2 separate regions of the Homo sapiens genome follow, and region 1 is linked to region 2. Evidence: promoter capture Hi-C in 16 types of primary human blood cells and fetal thymus (Javierre and others, 2016). All regions are on one chromosome and are shown on one strand. The core of a region is centred on a gene start or on the middle of the fragment in contact, and the rest is flanking DNA. Distances in the headings are between cores, read along the strand shown. Region 1 overlaps KIF9 (kinesin family member 9). Region 2 holds the start of SETD2 (SET domain containing 2, histone lysine methyltransferase).

Region 1 (3,052 bases), core at 2-2,501, 81 kb before region 2:
GAATGCTGTGGGCTTTAGGCTGGGGGGAGGCCAGTAACCTTCCTCCAGCCTCGTGTGTGTGTCTGTGCCCATGCAGACAGGACCATAAATGGGCTCCATCTGAAGACAGCAGGCAGAACCTTTTGGAAGTAAGAGAAAGCTGAGAAGTACATTTTATTAAAAAAAAAAAAAAAACCTTTAGAAGGTATTTTCAAGGTATAGAATCATTTCATTTTATAGAGGTCTCCACTTCGAAAAGGTGGTTTTTATAGCCTCAGCAAATACTTAGTTTTAAAATTATTAATCAGGTGTTTCTCTGCTCTGGAGGAGGGCTTGGCTGCCACTTCGCTGAGAGGCTGTGTGCACACGTCCTCTTCTCGAGACAGATGGTCCAGGGGTCAGCCAAGGGGTCTTGATTTCTCTACTAACATAGATGCCCCCTGGTCCCTCGAGGTGCCCTTGGTCTAACCTCTGCCTTGCTGTCTTCCCTCCAGATAATCAGCCTTAGACAGATCAAGGAGGTGTTCAACCAGTTCCGGGTGGTTCTGAGGTGAGAGACCCCCACCCCTACCTCATTCCTACATCAGGCTGCCATTTTCATCTCCTGCCATCTGGGCACTTGCCTCCAAGAGCTCCTCTTCTTGCTTGTGGATGAAGAGCCAAATCAGAGTCCTTGGGGGCATGCCTGGGTCCCTGGTGGATATTCAGTGAGTTCATTAATTGGACAGGAGGTGTTTATGGAGTGCCAGCTCTGAGAGTGCCCAGAGCAGGGCATTGTGAATATTCACCTTGTGAATATTGCAACACACACTCCCACCTCAGGAGGCATTTGTGGTTTATTTGGGTGCAAACATACCCATAGTCTGAGCAGCTTATGCTAGGTGGTGTCACTAAAGCTGGTCATGTGATTCCAAGTGGCCTCTTAGAGACAGAACCTAAGACAGAACCCCACATGGTCCCAAGTGAAGCTTACGGTCCTTATCAAGTGTCATCTTGGAGCAGACACACATGACATAAGGTAGCCCTTGTGGGTATGGGGGTCGGACAGTGGGTATATGCAATGGGGCAGGGGGAAGTGAGTCCTTTGTCCTTTTGTCTGGTCTGGTTCATGATGAAGGTGTGGCCCCACACAAGGGGCCTCACCCATATGACTTTTAACCCCAGTACTTGGTTCTTGCCCCAGTGGATTCAGCATGGCCCCAGGTACAAGCTGTTCTCTCTTGCTGTCTCCCAAGCCAACAGGAACAGGAAGTGGAGTCCACTTTGCGCAGGAAGTACACCCTCATTGACAGGAATGACTTTGCAGCCATTTCTGCTATCCAGAAGGTAAGCATAGTTGCTACTTGCCGACAGCACTCACCTCAGATTTCCCATCCTCAGACCTTTGCAGAGCCAGCAAGTATTAATGCATTAAACCAGAGCTAGGATTGCAACAGATAAAGGTAACACCAGAATGAACACAGGTGACCTGTGTTAAGAGTAAACCACTTTTGAATTAAAAATAATTTCCATAAGGTAGAGACATGGATAATAATATTAAAGACGATTTCCTGGAATTAGGTTGGAAATAAGCTTTAAGATCCCCAGAGTATGGAATGAGGTGCCATACTGGTGAGGGGGTGCATGTGGAAAGTGGACATTTGGCAGAGTGGTCAGGGACCGCTCTACAGGGGACAGCCTGAGGCTGGCATCAGCAGCTGTCAAACCTTGGTGTGTATGGTGAACATGTCCACCCTGAGCCTTGGGCCATATACATGTGGGTCCCCAAGGGGTCCAAGCCCTTAATCTAACTCACAGACCTTTGGCTGGCCTCTCTATGTAGGCGGGGCTTGTGGATGTTGATGGCCACCTAGTGGGTGAGCCTGAAGGACAAAACTTTGGACTCGGAGTCGCCCCTTTCTCTACCAAACCTGGGAAGAAAGCCAAGTCCAAGAAGACATTCAAAGAGCCACTCAGGTGAGTGACCTTGCCGCTCTGCCTCCTCAGCAGCTGGCCCTCCTCGGTGGGTGCATGGGAGGATGTGCACTGTTCCCACTTTCCCCCTGGTGTCTCAGCTACTGGGTTGGCACAATGGACGTCACTGCTGCCAATACTAGCAAGTCTGTGGGGCCCGGGCTGGGGCTGGTTTGGAACCGCACAAGAATCATCTCTCGTCCTCACAGCAACCTGGTGAGGTGGGAGTTAATGTCTTCATTACACTGATGAAGAAACAGAGGCTTAGAGAGGGGAAGTCACTCACCAAGGCCATACCACCAATGAGTAGTGGAATGGCAGCAAGAAGCTGGACCAGCTCTCCAGAGCCCATGCCCTCTGGTACTTTATGTTGTACCCCCTCCCCTCACTTCACTAGGGTCTTCCCGCCGACTGGCACTCAGGTCACCTAAAACTCCAGTTCACCTTTCAGGCAAGACTCGTTTGTATGTGCAAGGTGGGAAGAGCATTTAGGTTCACTTAGTGAGCCCTCCCAGGGTGCTGTGTAGTGGTGGGTAAGAGCACAGGCTCTGGAGCTGACGCCTGGGCTCCCTTCCCTGCTCTGCACTTCTCACACCCAAGGGGTCACCCCATGTGAGACATGAGAACCGCTCTGTGCCTGTTTCTGCATCTCCAAAATGGGAATAATAATAATAGCATCCAAGTCATTGAGGTTGTTGTGAGCAAGAGTGTGTGAGCACAGGCCACAGGCCAGAGCTGATTGTAGAAAACTGTTACACGCAGGACAAGAGTCAGGCAGCAGAGGATGCCAGTGTCCCTGGCTTCCTCCTGCCTCTTCATGAGTGCAGTCACACCCCAACCCTCTCTGTTCTGCTTCCGGATAATCAGTGCAGTATTCAATGGGTTGAGGCTCAGTTCCCTGAGCCATACTCGTTGCAAGGAGGAGGAAAGAGGAAGAAACAGATTTTCTATCCTCAGACCTTTGGGAAGAGCCATGGGCATCCTCCTGCCAGTTCGGTCCTCAGATCTGCCTCTTCTCGGAGAAAGGCACCAAGCACTGTCACTTCAGCAGGGAGGACAGCTACTTTTCTGGGAGCTGGTGTGGAGAACAGGGTGTGGACCAGTAAGAACAGCAGGGCAG
Region 2 (2,862 bases), core at 333-2,832:
TTGTTGTTTTATTTTTTTGAGACGGAGTCTCGCTATATCGCCCAGGCTGGAGTGCAATGGTGCGATCTGGGCTCACTACAACCTCCGCCTCCTGGGTTCAAGCGATTCTCCTGCCTCAGCCTCCCGAGTAGCTGGGATTACAGGCGCACCACCACGCCCAGCTAATTTATTTTTTATTTTCATTCATTTATTTATTTTTTTGAGATGGAGTCTTGCTCTGTCGCCAGGCTGGAGTGCAGTGGCACAATCTGGGCTTACTGCAACCTCCGCCTCCTGGGTTCAAGCGATTCTCCTGCTTCAGCCTCCCGCGTACCTGGAATTACAGCCGTGCGCCACCACGCCCGGCTAAATTTTGTATTTTTAGTAGAGATGGGGTTTCGCCATGTTGGCCAGTGTGGTCTGGAACTCTTGACCTCAGTTACTCCGCCCGCCTCGGCCTCCTAAAGTGCTGGGATTACAGGCGTGAACCACCGCGCCCGGCCCACTTTCAGTTTTTAACCACTGTTTCTCAATTGGAAGACACATCCTTTCCTTTCCGTTACCAATTGCTGGTAAAATCCGATTCAAAATTCTAGTGGAAAAACAACAGCAACAACAACACAAAAAACGCTAACCCTATGAACCCCCAATGTCAAAATGATCTATCGCCAAAAACTCTTCAGCGTCTAGAAAGTTTAGCTATTGGATTTACGCGTTCCTATCTCTCCTTCCAAAAATAACAACTCGTAGCTCTTTCAAGTTATTCTACTTAGTCTCATCTTATCATTTCTGTAGGAAAGTGATTAATACCCTTTTTTTCATGACATTGCCTCTAAGGCCCCAAGAACCACACAGGAGAGGGGAGCTGCCGCCTTGGAGACTTCGGGTGGGGGCAGAGCGCCGCGCCGAGGTGGAGGTAGGAGCCCCGAGGGCACAGCGGGAAGGAAGGCGGAGGAGGCTGCCGGGAGCTCGGCCTCCGAGCAATCCCCCGCCTCGCTGGGCTTCCATGCTTGCTAAAGGGTCGAGATGAACGGGCAAGGGAGAGAGAGGGCGAGGAAAAATAAAAAAGAGAGGGGCGAGTGGGACGAGGGGCCCGGGAGCAGCCGCGGCCGCGTTACCTCAGAGCCCAGAGGCCTGGGGGAGGGGCCCTCGGCGCTGCCGCGGACTCCGGGGCTCCCGGCGGGCAGGTCCTGCAGGGCCGCGGAGCGAGAAGGCTGATGTCTCGGGTGTCTCGGGGAGTTCTCCCGACGTCGCCTGCTGTTTGTCAGTCGCCAGCTGTGACACGGTAGCGGGCCGGGTCACGCTGCCCCCGGCCGCCAGGCGGGTTGCGGGAGGGGTCGCGGTGCCGCCTCTCCAGGTCCGGTCTGGCCCACATCACTGGGGCCGGGGGTTTATTGTTCCGGAGAGCCACAGGCACGGTCGGCCTGGACCCGCCGGGCAGTGTTCCGCTCTGCCCGTCCCGGCCTGGGGTCAAGCCAACAGCTGCAAGGCACGCCGACTGGCGGCAGATCGGTGGCCCGTGTGTGTCTCTTTAAGGGGCCGGGCCTGCGAAGCTGAGGGGCGGGTGGGGTGTGCGTCGCTCCCGGTGTGAGGGTGAGAGGGAGAGAGCGGCTGGCGGGCGTCCGAGGGAGGGAGGGAGCGACGAGCGAGGTAGCGACGCGGGCCGCCCCTGCCGCCGCCGCCGCCGCCGCCGCCGCCGCCGCGGTCGGACCTGCGGCCTCCTCCCCTCCCCTCCCCCGCGTCGCCCTGCTGCGGGGAGGGGGCTCGCGTCGCCGTCTCCAGCCGCTCCCGATGAAGCAGCTGCAGCCGCAGCCGCCTCCGAAGATGGGGGATTTCTACGACCCGGAGCACCCGACCCCTGAGTAAGTATCAGCTCCGCGGCCCCCCGCTGCTGTCGGCCGCCTTATCCCCAGCCGAGGGCGGCGCGTCCTGACGGGTGGCGGCGCGGGCCGGCGCGAGGAGTAACAGGCCCACGGTGGCCTCGCGCGGTCGGTGTCGGGAGCAGGCCCGCGCCGCCACTTCGAGCCGCTTGGCCGGGGCCGCAGCAGGCCCGCGGTTGGGCCCGGCGTTGGCGCCGCTGCTCGTGTCGCGGCGGCGGTTGGGCCGGGCCGGTGGGGGAGGGGCGGCCACGGTCCCTACGGTTACCGCCGTGTCCGCACCGACCCGGCCATCCCGGGGCTCGGCGGTCCTCTCGGGCTCCTCGTGGCTCGTCCGGGCCCCGCTGCTAGCCAAAGGGCAGAGTCGGAGGAGCTGCCGGTGCCGGGCCCGGCAAGAGGGCGCCGGTGAGGGTAGGCCGCGAATCCCCGGGCTCGGGTGGAAGCTCGACCCGTCGCCCGACCTCCCCGCGACGGCGGCGCCTCGGACCGGAAGGGCCTAGCGCGGGTTGCCTGGCCCCCGGGCCGTGGAGGGGCCCGCGCTGCACTCCTGAGTTTGATTTTTTCCTCCTGGGAACTCGATCCTGGCCTTGCAGTGCTTCCGGATTCACATTGTGCACCTTTGGCACTTGGGTTTTGTAATGGCGAGGTTTGTGTGGTCCCGTTGTTGAGGTGACACCGGGTTTGTTTTTCCGCTTGAAAATGAAAGCCTCCTGAGGGACATACATTTTCTTGCAGGTTGTGAGATTTTCACACTTTCGGACACAATTTTCTTGGTAACAGGAATCTCTTACCCTAAACGGATGACTTTCTATTTCTTGTGAAGACTTGGTTAAAAACCAAGAATCGTTTGAGGATTCTCTAAAGAAGACAATGTTGTGGAAAACCGACACACAGTTTTGCCCAATAGTAATTTTTCAGTCTAGGACACCTTTACATTTCTCTTGAGGTCTGAATCTGCTGCTGTATCTGCTATCTCAGAAAGCCTGGAGTCACTTCTTTCCCTGAA

Evidence for each region. Contacts are between HindIII fragments. The CHiCAGO score rates a contact against its expected background, and 5 or more counts as called.
Region 1: a contact is called between a fragment that was not itself captured here and the fragment with the promoter of SETD2 in region 2, in 1 of 17 cell types (megakaryocytes). The highest score is 5.0, in megakaryocytes.

The regions. Positions count from the first base shown.
Region 1 is chr3:47,243,674-47,246,725 of GRCh38, reverse strand. KIF9 (kinesin family member 9) reads left to right here. Exons shown (of 21, transcript NM_182902.4): 13 at 474-529; 14 at 1,215-1,305; 15 at 1,802-1,935. KIF9-AS1 (KIF9 antisense RNA 1) reads right to left here. Exons shown (of 7, transcript NR_033373.1): 7 at 2,610-3,052. Among named protein-coding and RNA genes, the nearest start is that of SNORD13J, 5.4 kb to the left of the region's middle. The HindIII fragment of the contact is 604 bases long and covers 950-1,553 here.
Region 2 is chr3:47,162,833-47,165,694 of GRCh38, reverse strand. It overlaps SETD2 (SET domain containing 2, histone lysine methyltransferase), which reads left to right and starts at 1,582. Exons shown (of 21, transcript NM_014159.7): 1 at 1,582-1,841. The coding sequence starts at 1,771. It overlaps KIF9-AS1 (KIF9 antisense RNA 1), which reads right to left and starts at 1,325. Exons shown (of 7, transcript NR_033373.1): 1 at 1,098-1,325. RefSeq lists silencers at 1,080-1,129, 1,180-1,929, 1,980-2,289. The HindIII fragment of the contact is 4,411 bases long and covers 1-2,862 here.